Regions from separate parts of the Homo sapiens genome. Here all the other regions are linked to region 1. The links are contacts of gene promoters, found by promoter capture Hi-C in blood cells and fetal thymus (Javierre and others, 2016). All regions are on one chromosome and are shown on one strand. The core of a region is centred on a gene start or on the middle of the fragment in contact, and the rest is flanking DNA. Distances in the headings are between cores, read along the strand shown. Region 1 holds the start of LIME1 (Lck interacting transmembrane adaptor 1). Region 2 has its middle 4.0 kb from the start of SOX18. Region 3 overlaps PRPF6 (pre-mRNA processing factor 6).

Region 1 (4,194 bases), core at 1,610-4,109:
CCCCGCCGGGGAGGGCCCGTTCCCCACGGGCGCGCTCGCAGAGCTGCCAGAGCCGGGGAAGGGGCCGCGATTGCTTGGCGGGCTTCCCGGCAGCAGGTTACTCTTTAACGCTCGACTGCCCACCTCCACCACCCCTTATGTAACACCAGGCTGGGTGGCGGAGCCCTCCCGTGGAGTCCAGGGTCCAAGTCCCACCCGGGGGCGGCCACCCTGCCGGCTGCGCTGCCCCCTAGGAGTGGCTGGGACCCCGTGCCCGCACTGACCGAGAGTCTGGCCGGCAGGAGCACCGCCTCGGCTAGGCCCGGGCGCCCCGGGGGCAGCCAGTCCCCCAAGGCCAGAGGGGACAGCTCCAAGCCTTCCAGAGAAGCCCCCCGCCCCAACCCGCCCAGCTTTCAAGAAGAGCAGGCTGCGAGGCTGGCCGCTTTCATCCTGCGCTGGCGCTTTATTTAGACGCGGGCCTTCTCTGGAGCCCGGGGAGGCCGCGGCTGTCAGAGCGGCCAGGACCTCACGGACCTCACGGGCTGGCAGCCCGGGGACCTGGGACTGGCGCTGTCAGCTGTGAGGCGGGGCGGGGCGGGGGACGGGCCTCACTCTGGAGGAAGGAGCACAGGTCCTTGAGTGTTCAGGGCAGGGAGGCAGGGAGGGGTCTCCAGCCCCTCCCTAGGCTGGGGCAGCTGGAAGCAGGGGGCGTCCCAGCCCCGCACGTGCTGCTCCTGCCAGCAGGGTCCCCCAGCTCCCGGATGCTCTCATACACGTTTTCCAGGGGGCCGCTGTCCACATCCAGGGCCCTGAGCGGGAGGGTCTGGTAGGCCAGGTCACCCGCCAGGGCCAGAATCGCTCCCTGGCCCTTGGGGTCCAGCGGGTCTGTGGTGGGTCCTGGGTCCCTCCTTTTAGGCTTGCAGACCCTGGAGTACAGGACGTCCACCTGGAGACAGGAAGCCAACCCGAGGAGGGGTCAGCACCATCCAACCTGCTGAGGATCTGCCGGCCCCACCCACAGCGCCCTACCCTGGCCCACGTTACCTGAGCGGCCGGGGTCACCTCAGTCTTCCCCTGCTGTGGCTCTTGGGGACTGCGATGGGTCCCTTTGCGCTTCTGGACGCGGGCATACTCGGCCACCACAGGGCTGGCCGCCAGGCTGACCCCGGGAAGGGCCGCCAGCCCCACGTTGGAATAGGTGGCCTCGAGGCCAGCGCACCCTGCGGTGGCTGCAGCTGCCGGCAGAGCCCGGGGCAGCTCCTGGTGTGGGAAGGCAGAGGGGGCTGCCTGCGGTCCGGTGATGTCCCTGGACACCTCCAGCCAGTGTGGGCGCAGGAGATCCATGCTGGCAGGCCGCAGGGCTGGGGGTGGGGTCAGGGCAGAGTTCACTCCGGGCAGGGGGCAGGAGCGGGTCTGGCCCAGGGGTTGGCACGCGCTGCACAGTAAGCCCCGCCCGGCCGCCCCCGCCCCGCCCTCTGCTCACCCCTGCTGCTGCGCGGGCCCCGGTGCAGCTCGTGCAGTCTGGTGTCCGACTTGCTGAGGGAGCAGAGGTGGGTCCGCCTCAGTAGGGACTGGGGGCGAGGAAGGCTGGTCGGTGCCCTGCGGACCCCACCCTGGTCCCCGGGACAGCCTGGCACTCACCGCTTCCGCCGCCGTCGCACTGCCCTGCAGCCTCGCCCGCTGCCTCCGCGCCCTCTTCCTGGGGGCTACAGCGTCCTCGGGCCTTGGGGGTAGAGGTGGGGGGCGGGGGGCGGGGTCGTCAGCCTCGGGTCCAAGGCCCGGTGCAGGCGCGCGTGCCGAGCTGGGTGCGCGGACCTGCCTCCAGCCCCTTCCCGCGCTGGGCTGTGAATGGCAGCCGCAGCGAGGCCCCAGACAGAACGCGGCTGAGGGACCTACCTGCGGCAGGCTGTGCACAGCGCCCACAGCGAGAGGAGCAGGGCGCAGCACCCTAGAACCCAGAGGGCAGGAGGGGCCCAGGACACTGGCAGCCCCATCCTGTGAAGCCGAGGCCCTGGGGACAGAAGAAAGGGGCGCTGGGGGCTGGCCAAGGGGACCTGGCGCCACCTGGCAGCCCCAAATCTGCACCTCCCGCGGCTGCGGGGCTCCTGCGTCTCCCGTTCCAGCTCTGACTCAGCACAGGAAGCCCCAAGGCCTGGCAGTCCCTCCCTCCCAGAGGTGCCCACCTTCTGGCGGGGGCTCCCGGTGAGGTGAACTAGGGCTGCTCTGCCTGGCCCCTCCGTGTCCCTGCGGGTGACCACGGTAACACCCAGCACGGCCGTGAGGAGGGGCAAGACAGCTGTGGCCACCATAGCCCAGATAGTAACCAGCATCGGGGGAGCCCCTGGGTGTGCGCCACAGGCCACAGACTCCACCTGCAGCCACCCTCTGCCCAGACATGGTCTCCTGTGTCAGGTAGTGCCCCCAAGCCGCTCGCTGCGGAGCCCAGAACTGGGAAGAGCTGGAGGCTGGTCAGCAGGAGGGACCCTGCACCCGGAGGAGCTGGAGGCTGGGTCAGCAGGCAGCAGCAGCTGCTGGGGGTGCTGATGCCCCCACCCCACTTCTCTCTGGCTCTTCTTGTCTGCCAGTGTCTCTGCCAGAGAGGATCTGTCCCCTTCTTGGGGATCTTAGCAGAACTTCTCGGGGTGGGGGATGCCTTACAAACAGCACAGTCCAGCAGCAGAGACAGAAGCTGGGGGGTGAGGGGTGGTCTCTGGAGTTTGGGGCCAGTCTGCTCAGACCCAGGGAGTGGGCTTCAGCCTGGCTGACTGACCCAGCTGCAGCCACATCCCAAGGCCTCCCAGACCCCAGCTGCCCCCCAGGAGGGCACTTACCAAGCCCACGGCCAGGGGTCCTCAGCTCTGTCTGGGGCAGGCCAGGAAGGTCTTTGTGCAGCCCTCGGCTGAGCTCCCCACCTCATCACTTCCTGCTCCTGTCGCCAAGCGCCTCCCCTGAGCCTCCCACCCTGGGCAGCAGCCACCACCGCAGCCTCACCCACCTGCTGCGCCCCGCCCGAAGCCTAGATGAAACGTGTGCGCCTCTAGCCCGCACTGTTCTGACAGCCTAACTCACAACCCCTCCACACACGAAGACGTGAGCAGAGCTGGCACAGAACCCCCAAACCCACAGGGCCAGGTCCGCCTGCCTCACCAAGAGTGCCCCACGTGGTGGGCCACAGTCCTCTCCCGCCCGTCTCGCCCGCTGGAGCAGCACTGAGCTCCACCCATCTGTGGGTGTCAGGCAGCCTGGCGGGCACCCTGGCCTCCGATCTGCCTTGGTCAGAGAAGGGTAAGAAGGGAGAATGCCGGCCTCCTAGGCCCCTCCAGCCCAGCCCGTCTCTCACCACAGCCCTGCACAGACCCTTCTCTCCCCAGAGACCCTGCAGCCAGCTGATCTCCACTGAATGACACTGTGATGAAATCACTTTAATGTCCTTGCCAAGGAAATGCCCAAGACACTGGCAGGTGGGCAAGTAAGTGTCCAGATGGGACCCCGCAGCTCTGTCTCCACTCAGCAGTGTCTGCACGCCCCAGGCCAGCAGGCCGGCCCCTCCTCGGGCAACACTGGTCTTCCTGAGGGCAGCCCGTGCTGGGGTCCCACGCTTCGTCCATAGTGCTTGTGGGGTCTCTAGAACTCAGTCATCTTCTTGTGGGTGTCTGCCTTCCTCTGCTCCTGCTGCAGGCCGGCTTCCTGAGCCCGGAGCTGCCCCAGCTGGCGCTGGGCTCCTGCCAGCTTCTCCTGCAGCTGGGCTGACGCCACGCTATGCCTGCGGAGGGGCTCACTAGTCAGCGTGGGGTCCTGGGCCATGCCACCAACCCCAGTCTGCCGTACCCACTGCCTGTGTGCCCGCTGCCCGTCCTCCAACATGCAGACCCCTCCTGGACTCAGCCCGCTATGCTTGGGTCAGGTGACCTCCAGCATGTATCCCGGGGGCAGGGCCACCCTGGGTCGCCCTTTGCCCTGAGCTGGGCCCCACACGTACCGGCCAGCGTTGCGGGCGAGAGCCTCCTGGATGCTCCTGATGTCCCGCTGGGTTCGCTCGATCTTCTCCTCAGTCTGGAAGAGCCGCAGGCTCAGGGCCCGCTTGGCACTCTTGCTGGCATGGTACATGTCCTTGCTCCTCCTCCCCGCTGGGGCCGCCCCGGCTTCTAGGGCCCCAGGAGCCTGACCTTGCAGCTTTTCATTGAGGAAGTCAAACACATTCCGAGGAGCTGGGCG
Region 2 (4,733 bases), core at 1,230-3,729, 320 kb before region 1:
CCCACACAATTCCCAGAAATGCAGCCCTGCCAGCCCGCCAGCCTGGCGGCCACTCCACCCTCCCCTTCCCCAGAGGCCCCAGGCAGCCGTGGGGTCGGGGCTATGGGTGAAGCCTAGAGACCTGACTCACAGGGCAGCAAAACCAGGGTTCCCTGAGGCGGCACCTCCCAGGGGCCCAGGCCTCCCAGAGAGAGACCAGGGAGACTCCTGGGGCAGCCAGATGGGGTCTGAGAGCAAACCTTGGCCAGGCTCCCGCCGCGGCAGAAGCAGAGCCCCCTGCCTTCTGGCAGGGGACTGCCCGTCCCTCCTGCCCCGCACAGCCCCGTCTTCACGTAGCAGCTGAGCTGAGGCAGATCACACTCCACTCAGAACCTCCCAAGGTCCCACCTCACTCAGAAAATGCAAGACCCTCCCAGAGCCAACTCAGCCCCTTGTTCCCTCTGAGCCTCATCCCCTCCTCTCTGCACCCCCTGCTCTGCTCACACCAGCAGACTTCCCTGCCCCAGGGCCTTGGCACATGCTCCTCCCTCTGTGAAAAGACTCCTCCCATGAACCCCCAAGGGCAAAAGCCACGTGTGGCCCTGACACAGCCCCTCCCTATACCTGATGAACCCCCAAGGGCAAAAGCCATGTGTGGCCCTGACACAGCCCCCCTCCCTACACCTGGCACCCCAAGTTCTGGCTTGTTTGTGGATTTGTTTTTGGTTAGGTTTGTTTTGTTTCGTTTTTGTTTTTTGAAACAGTCTTCCTCTGTCGCCCAGGCTGGAGTGCAGTGGTGCGATCTCGGCTCACTGCAACCTCCACCTCCCGGGCTCAAGCAATTCGTGTGCCTTAGCCTCCCTACTACCTGGGATTACAAGCATGTGCCACCACGCCCAGCTAATTTTTGTTTTTTGTTTTTGCTTTTGTCTGGAAACAGAGTCTCACTCTGTCACCCAGGCTGGAGTGCAGTGGTGCGATCTTGGCTCACTGCAACCTCTGCCTCCTGGGTTCAAGCGATTCTCATGCCTCAGCCTCCAGGGTAGCTAGGATTACAGACATGCGCCACCACGCCTGGCTAATTTTTGTATTTTTTTTTTTTTTTTTTAAGTAGAGGCAGGGGTTTCACTATATTGGCCAAGCTGGTCTCGAACTCCTGACCTCAGGTGATCCGCCCACCTTAGCCTCCCAAAGTGCTGGGATTACAGGCATGAGTCACCACACCTGTTTGTGGATTTGTTGATTGTCTGTCTCTTCTCACCATAATGGAAGCTTCCCACAGGCAGGGACCTGTCTGTTTTGTTCTCTGCCAAATTCCTAACCCCTAAAACAGGGTCTACTACACAACAGGTGCTCAATAACAAATGGATGGATAGATGTTGCCTGTCCCTGAGCAAGAAGGGGTGGATGAGCCCCCAGAACACAGGCCTGCCCCCTCCAGCCTATGTGGCAGCCCCAGCTGGCTGTCACCAATGCCAGGACAAGCAACAAAAAGAAACACACAGCTTCAGGCATCCGGCCCTGCAGTGCCCCTCCGTGGCTGGGAGACAGATGACCCCTGAGGATGTTCTCCCTCTCCCGACTTACCAGCCTGGCAGGGGAGAAGGAGGCTGGGCCAGCCCAGGACAGGGTAGTCAGAGTGGACACTGCCCTCCAGGGACCCTGGGGACCGGAGTGTGCTAACACATGCCCCACGGTGCAGGGTACACTGAGAGCCCCATCTGGGCCTCTACAGAGCCACAAATGGACTGGGGCTCACATAAGCACAGGACCAGGTCACCCACAGACCCAAGCCCAAGTCACCACGGTCTGAATAAAGGCAGCCATACAAGCATGGAGGTGGAGACAAGGGTGGGGCCAGCGGAACTTGGGCAGGAGCTCCCAGCCAGTGGGGGCCGGGGCCGCAGCACAGAATGTCTGGCGCCTGCTCAGCCCAAGCTGGCCCCAGGCCCCCTCCTGCAAGGCCGGCCTTCCTTCCTGAGCTGCAGTTTCCTGGCCCCTCCCTGCTGTTGCCTCAGAAACCCGGAGCAGCCCAGCCCCCCAGCCTGCTTCCCATGGAACCCCCCCAACACACACACACACACAAACATCACTGGGAAGGCCGCACAGCAGGCAGCAACACCCAGGGACACAAGCGGCCCTGCAGCCGCCCCCAGGGCAGGACACCCCAAGGGCCACACAATGGCCCCCACGGAGCTCAAGCAGCTGCTCTGACACCCCGACTCTTGCCCAGTGCCCCTAAAAGTGGGCACAGCCCTTGATAACACCCTAGGTACATGCCCACCACAGCACAACACCCCAGAATTTGAGAACAGCTTCCACATCACCAGGGCCCTGGGAGCACCTACAGAAGCCCCGCTCGCCGCAGATGACCCGACCCCGACTGTCCACAGCACATCTGCTACCCGAAGCCCAGCATCACCCTGTGCATTCAGCACTCCCACCCCCACCAGCCCCCTGTGGCCCTCGACCCAGAGAAGCCCCTACCCCTCTCGGTCCTGCTGGCCCTTAGCACCGAGTAGAAGAGACCCTGACACCACACGACGACTGACACCTGACACCACACGACGACTGGCACATCACCCCTTAGACTACAAAAGCACCCCACTCACACCGCACACCCCAGCCTGCAGGCCCCAGCACAGCCCCCTGCACCCACACCTTCAGACCCTTCCCCACTCGCACCGCAACCCCAGCTCTGCATGCAACTCTCGGGTCCGCTGGACTGCGGCAAATCGTCAGGTGAACCCTAACCCCACACCTAACAGTTGAGAGGCGCCGCCCAGGTGAGCAGGAGCATGTGCACCTCTCATGCCTGCTCATGCCTAGGAAAGCACAGGCACCTCCTGCCGCCCCACCTGCCCTCTCCCAGAGTTGAGGCCGGCAGCTATCGGAAGCCCGGTGACGCTGTGCACACCAGGACTGAGAGCTGGAAGGCACGGAGCCAGGAGAAGCCTCTGTCCCTGGGCAAGGGCCACCTGAACCGGACCTGTCATTGGCCAAGAGGGACATGCACACAACTGTGTCCACCTGGTGCTGAGGCGTCAGGCGGCCTCGTCACAGACCCTCGCCCCAGCTTCACATTCTCCCTGCCCTGGCCTCTGCCATGTCTCACTAGGCCTGGAGCCGCCACCCCAGGACAAGGCCCACTAAATACAGAGCTCCTGAGGAGTCAGACATGCCTCCACGGGTCCCAAAGGAAGCCTACCGAGGCAGCAGACAGAAGGAGACCAAGATGCTATGGCCTCTGGAGGACAGTGGCTGGGAGGTCGGGGGCTCCCTGTAGGAAGAGGTGTTCAGCTGTGGGCAGAAGGTAGGATCTGAACTGGAGAGAGCCGAGGTTCGGGAGGCCAGAGAGCCCCCTCCACCTGAAACTGCATCCAACAGGAACCCCCACCTTCACCCTTGAGGAGCAGGAGGGTCCAGGCCCTGCGGGACTCGGTAATTGGTCCCAGCCTCGCTGCTCTTGCAGCCGCAGGGGCTGGGCTGGTGGGATCCTGGGAGGTCTGTGCCCAGGCAGTGGCTGGGAGGTCCTGCCATCCCGGCCCAGAGCCGCGCCAAGCCAAGCTCCCACCCAGAGCCACGGAGGGGGACTACCCAGCATCCTTTGCGGACCTCACTCAGAGGCCGGGGTTCCTGTCCAAGCTGAGGGAGAGGGGCAGGTGGCAGGCAGGAGGACAGTGTCCACTCAGTGCCCAGGCCAGCCCCACCCTTGTAGAGAAAGCTTGCCCCCAAACTCTGCCTTTCTGACTGGGGCTTGGGGGCTACAGATAGGCTCCTTCCCAAGGGTGGGCCATAGCCCACCTAGTCCAGGACAGACTGAGGTGGGGTTCCAGAGGCAGAGGAATGCCCCTAGACTCATGAACTGCCTGCCCTCTTTTGGAGAATGCTGGGGCCCAAGCTCAGTGGCCAGAGAAGCCTTGGGGACCCTCCAAACTTCACGGAGCAGGACCCCTGGTCCTGGACCTATTATGGGTCCTCATCTCTTCCTGGGAACGTCCAGCTTGCCTGGCTCTCAAGGCCCTGGGCAGCCTCCAGCACTAGAGTCCCCCTCACCCCACACCCAGGCAGACAGACAGACACAGGCCACACACAGATGCACAGACACACATCGGATGCCCCTCCCTCAGCACAGCTGGCCACACCCACACCATCCCCTCTACAGCCCTGGCAAGTCCCCCCAGCCCTGCGGCTCCAGATCACGCCACCCTGGCTGTGGTCCCTACCCCCACTTTGTCCCATCTGGACACTGGGCCAGGGCTGCCAGCCTCCTCCCTGCCACGCAGAGGGAGAGGAGCACCTCAGGAGGCTCCCCGCCCAGCCCCGACTCACAGGACATGACAGCCGGACACCTGAGTCCACAGCCCAGCCAAGAGGGTGGGTCACTGGCTGGCGCCAGGCAAGGCGGCTGCTGGTGGGTGTTGTGGGGGACGTGGAGGCGATGAGGTCATGCCGGACACTGCCTGCCACTATGTTTAGAGCAGCTCCAGTGACTCTGGGCTCTCGGGGGTGGCAGAGGACCAAGCAGGGCCCCCAGGGAACTGCAAATCCTTCCCCACGTGTGAGGGCTACTGCAGAGGACCCCGAGGACCTCTTTCCCAGGCCGCAGTGACCAGCCACTGCCCAGGCTGAGCCAGGCCCTGGTGACCCCTGACTGCAACCCTAAGGTTGTGAGTAGAGAGAGCTTCCGCCAAGTGGTAGCCCTTTGGGGTCTTCGCACGGCTCCCCACCCCCCCTGCACCCTCCTGCCAGCT
Region 3 (4,733 bases), core at 929-3,428, 270 kb before region 1:
CTAAAAATACAAAAATTAGCCAGGTATGGTGGCATGCACCTGTAATCCCAGCTACTGGGGAGGCTGAGGCAGGAGAATCGCTTGAACCCAGAAGGCGCAGGTGCAATAAGCTGAGACTGTGACACTGCACTCTAGCCTGGGTGACAGAGAGAGACTCCAACTCAAAAAAAAGAAAAAGAAATTAGGCCAGGCAGCTGATTGTGGTGGTTCACACCTATAATCCCAGCATTTTGGGAGGCTGAGGTGGGAGGATCGCTTGAGCCCAGGAATTCGAGACTAGCCTGGACAACATGGCGAAACCCTGTCTCTACAAAAAATACAAAAATTAGCTGGGCGTGGTGGCATGTACTTGTGGTTCCAGCTAGCTGGGAGGCAGAGGTGGGAGAATCGCTTGAGCCCAGGAGGTGGAGGTTGCAGTGAGCCAAAACTGCACCACTGAACTCCAGCTCCAGCCTAGGCAAAAGAGGGAGACTCAGTCTCAAAAAAAAAAAAAAGAGGAAAAGGGCAGGGCAGGGGAGGGGAGGCGGGGAGGGAAGCGGAGGCGGGGAGGGGAAGAGGGGACGGGAGGCAGAGGGGAGGGGAGGCGGGGAGGGGAGAGGGCAAGTGAGCTAGCTCTCCTGCAGGTACCTGCTCTCCTGCTGAGAAACAGCCCCAGGCTGGCTGTGAGGCCCTGGCAGGGAATGAACACTCAGCTAAGGGACATAAAATGACTGAGCAACCTGCTGCCCACTCCAGGTGTTACTGACAGACCAAGCCACAAGGTTGGGCAGATGCAGCAGTGGCCTCATAGGGTGGAAATGGCACCCAGGAGATGGTGTGGAAGGAAGGCAGGTGCAGCACAGCTGCCTAAGCTATGGGGCAGATGCCTCCTGCACTGGTGGCTGCTCAACCGCTTTCCTCCCTCAGCCCACACTGACAACCTCTGGGGAGTCCCTTAGGGTCAAGGGACTGAGAAGACAAAAGTCTGCTGTGGTTTACGCATGGTTCTGCACAGCACACTGGCACTGACACCCCTGGCCTTATTATCTGGATGTCCACTTGACCAACTGAAAGACGGCCAGAAGACGAAGCTATATGAATTCACCGATTCAGGCAGAACATGGTCTTACCATGTGCCCATCACTCAGAGCCATGGCCTGGCAGCCCAGTAGGATGCCACAAATGCTGTGAATAGACACCAATCCCGGCTGGATCTCACAGCCAGAACACACGGGTCTAGGAATAAACAGTGATGTCTGAATGGCTCAAGTCCCATCTCCGCTGCCACAAGTCCCGTCTCCACTGCCAAGAGTCCCGTCTCCGCCTCCTTGGACCCTCCTGTCAAGAGAGCTGGTCCAAAGGCCGGGTGTGGTGGCTCACATTTGTAATCCCAGCACTTTGGGAAGCTGAAGCGGGTGGATCATGAGGTCAGGAGTTCGAGACCAGCCTGGCCAACACAGTGAAACCAAACCCCATCTCTATTAAAAATACAAAAATTAGTCGGGTGTGGTGGCAGGTGCCTGTAATCCCATCTACTTGGGAGGCTGAGGCAAGAGAATTCCTTGAACCCAGGAGGCGGAGGTTGCAGTGAGCCGAGATTGCGCCACTGCACTCTAGCCTGGGCAACAGAGCAAGACTCAGTCTCAAAAAAAAAAAAAAAAAAGAGCAAGCTACGAGCTACTCCAAAGGGAGTATGTGCCAACCAGGGTGCAGACCACAGCTCCCTCTGGCCTCCTCATGTACCAGCCCTGGCTGGAGAGGCTAACCCTGACTCCCAAAGCGAGACTGAGTTGCTGCCACCCACTGTGGGAGACTATCTAGAGGCCAGTCCTAAAAACAGTTTAGTATTTCTGCTTTTACCAGTAAAAGTTAATGGGAACTACAGCCACCAAAAAAGCAAAACTACCAACAAGTCAGACCCTTTGGGGATAAAGATATGGGTCCTGGCTGAGCACAGTGGCCCCCATCTGCAGTCCCAGCATTTTGGGAGACTGAGGTGGGAGGATCACTTGAGCCCAGGAGTTTAAAACCAGCCTGGATGACACAGGGAGACCTCGTCTCTTTGAAAAATTAAAAACTCAGCCAGGCATGGTGGTATGTCCCTGGAGTCCCAGCTATTCAGGAAGCTGAGACTGGAGGATAGTTTGAGTCTGGGAGGTTGAGGCTTCAGTGACCCATGATCATGCCACTGCACTCCAGCCTAGGCAACAGAGCAAGATCCTGTCTCAAAATAAAAATTATTTAGGCATGGTAGTATGTACCTATGGTCCCAGCTACTCAAGAGCCAGAAGCAGGAGGATCACTACAGCCCAGGAGGTTGAGGCTGCAGTGAGCTGATTGCAACACTGCTCTCCAGCCTGGGCAATAGGACGAGGCTCTGTCTAAAACAAAAAAAAGATTTGGGTTACTCATCCAGGTCAAGAACCCTGACCAAGCAGGGTGACAGCAGAGGGCACAGCAGTAAAGAAGGAAAGTCCTAACCTCCAACCAGGCGACTAGGCATAGAGAGAAGACACAGAACGACCCAGTTGTTTTTCCTGTGCGCTCTCACCTCGACTGCGTGGGAGATGAGTGCTCTATTTGTCTAAATATGAACTACTTCCCTTAATACTTTGTACATTGGTGGAGATGAACTTCGCGTCTCTAAAGAACAGAATATTCATGCGGGACTCAATTTATGGAGTCATTAACTTACGACTCCCAGGACTCTGTGTCTTCAAGTTTTGGGAGAGAGCTGACATATCTCCATGGCATCTCATCAGCAGCCCACAGGCATGGCACTAAAACCAACAAGGTCACCTTCCCCAGGTGCTTTCGGAAGCCACATGGCACACCATGATACAATGGCCTTCAAGGAGTGTGACTTTATGAGCAGAAGTGGAGGAAGCACACACCCCTGAAGTTGGCCTAGAACAGAAGAGTATTCTGAATGCTAGACACAGCCATGAAGACGTGACCGTGCAGAGGCCAACATGCTCTCCGGGGGTCACGTGACTGCAGGGAAGACCCTCAACCTGAACTGTGCCATTCCTGTGCCCCCAGAGGGACACGCTGGCGACGGCCACTGAAGGATGCCACGCTTCACAGGCCAGAGCATATGGCGTTAGTGTAAAATAACTCCACTTCCACACATCTGCATTAACTAGCGGAGTACACAGCATGTGAGTGCATTATTGTAGGGGAGCTGCCAGTCGGGCCTCCCCAGGGGACTCTGCACGTGGGACACCCCACCCTGGCCAGGAAGCTCACATGCTGCACCCTCCCCAATCCTGAAAGCCCTCTTCCCTTTTACAGAGGAAGACATGGAAGCTCAGAGGCCAAGCACCATGCCTAAGGTTACTCAGCCTCCTCAGGTCTCAAGATCAGCACCCAAAACGCCCATTCTCCCAACAAAGGACTAAGGTGTCAGCTCAGCCCAACAGCGACCCAGAGCTCACAGAGACCATGCACTGCCAGGCTCCCTGGCTGGCAGGTGTCCTAAGTCACCAGTGGAAGTAGCTGTCATCTTAATTTCAAAAACCAGACCCTTCAAGCAACGTGTAAGTGTTTGCTAATAACCAAATGAAGCAGTGCTGGGCTTCACCCCAGGAAAAGAATACAGTTTTTGGAAACACTCTTGGGAAAGGGCAGGCCAGGACCAGTATTAGGGCAGCGGCAAAGGCCATCCTGGAGATCCTGGGTTCATTCCACCTTAGCCCAGCTTCTCTGCCTGAGAGAGCACAGCCAGGAGGCCACTCCCTGAGAGAACAGCCGTGGAAACACAGTCCCTCAACACTCCCCGAAGGCCCCCGCCTCCAACAGCATACTCCCATCTCCAAATCCAAACCAACTGGAAATGAACCCAGACAATCTGGTGGTGAGCAGGGAGTGGCCACAAAGACATTCATGATCATTCATCAAACTGTGGCAGGAAGAATTCAATAGAGCTTTTCTAAGTAAACAATACTAATTACCCAGACTTTCATGGGCTCTTCATCAAAGAACTATTTCTTCCTAGCTGAAAAAAGATAAACTGATTTCTACAAACCCAGACAGGTGCTAACTTTCTGTTCCTGGCCACCTCATTATAAGACGCTGTCTCTGGCCGGGCGCGGTGGCTCACGCCTGTAATCCCAGCACTTTGAGAGGCCGAGGCGGGTGGATCATGAGGTCAGGAGATCAAGACCATCCTGGCTAACATGGTGAAACCCCATCTCTAATAAAAATACAAAAAAAAATTAGCCAGGCCTGGTGGCGGGCGCCTGTAGTCCCAGCTACTTGGGGGGCTGAGGCAGGAGAATGGCGTGAACCTGGGAGGCGGAGCTTGCAGAGAGCCGAGGTCGTGCCACTGCACTCCAGGCTGGGCGACAGAGCGAGACTCTGTCTCAATAAAAAAAAATAAAAGAGGCTGTCTCTGAGCATTCACTGAGCAGCTGGGCTGCGGTCAAGAAACCAGCCTCGACAGAGGAAAGCACGTTCACATGTGAGTGCACAGGGTCGGGGGAACATGCATCACAGGCAAGCAGCCTTCACCTGTCTTCTAACAGACGTAGACAGTAAGTGAATGAAACTATATTTGATAAGGGGCTTTCTACCAAAGAGCCCTCATCTGCACGGTCCTATCAGCACAGAAGCCTCAATGGGATATTTCGCTTAAAGACATTTGGAAAAACAAGAGCTGGAAAGCTCTCACTGAAAACTGCCCTTGATTCCATAAAATACACTTTATTTTTCCTAGGCTATAAATTCAGGAAGAATAGGCTGGATGCGACGGC

The links. The method cuts DNA at HindIII sites, captures the fragments that hold promoters and counts their contacts. A CHiCAGO score of 5 or more calls a contact.
Region 2: a fragment that was not itself captured here is called in contact with the fragment with the promoter of LIME1 in region 1 in 1 of 17 cell types (naive CD8 T cells); the score reaches 5.4 in naive CD8 T cells.
Region 3: a contact is called between a fragment that was not itself captured here and the fragment with the promoter of LIME1 in region 1, in 6 of 17 cell types (M2 macrophages, naive CD4 T cells, activated CD4 T cells and 3 more). The highest score is 6.1, in M2 macrophages.

The regions. Positions count from the first base shown.
Region 1 is chr20:63,735,329-63,739,522 of GRCh38, reverse strand. It overlaps LIME1 (Lck interacting transmembrane adaptor 1), which reads right to left and starts at 2,859. Exons shown (of 6, transcript NM_017806.4): 1 at 2,811-2,859; 2 at 1,876-1,990; 3 at 1,621-1,702; 4 at 1,463-1,550; 5 at 1,024-1,340; 6 at 420-925. The coding sequence starts at 1,973. The coding sequence ends at 623. ZGPAT (zinc finger CCCH-type and G-patch domain containing) reads right to left here. Exons shown (of 7, transcript NM_181485.3): 6 at 3,959-4,194; 7 at 3,381-3,742. The coding sequence ends at 3,604. RefSeq lists silencers at 1-239, 1,244-1,303, 1,384-1,533, 1,604-1,823 and enhancers at 964-1,558, 1,758-2,674, 3,254-3,433. The HindIII fragment of the contact is 14,127 bases long and covers 1-4,194 here.
Region 2 is chr20:64,051,318-64,056,050 of GRCh38, reverse strand. It overlaps a transcript of TCEA2 not described here. Among named protein-coding and RNA genes, the nearest start is that of SOX18, 4.0 kb to the right of the region's middle. RefSeq lists enhancers at 1-351, 352-1,041, 2,422-3,111. The HindIII fragment of the contact is 2,452 bases long and covers 1,254-3,705 here.
Region 3 is chr20:64,003,226-64,007,958 of GRCh38, reverse strand. The region is part of intron 9 of PRPF6 (pre-mRNA processing factor 6); the gene reads right to left. Among named protein-coding and RNA genes, the nearest start is that of PRPF6, 24 kb to the right of the region's middle. RefSeq lists a silencer at 2,693-2,865. The HindIII fragment of the contact is 5,259 bases long and covers 1-4,733 here.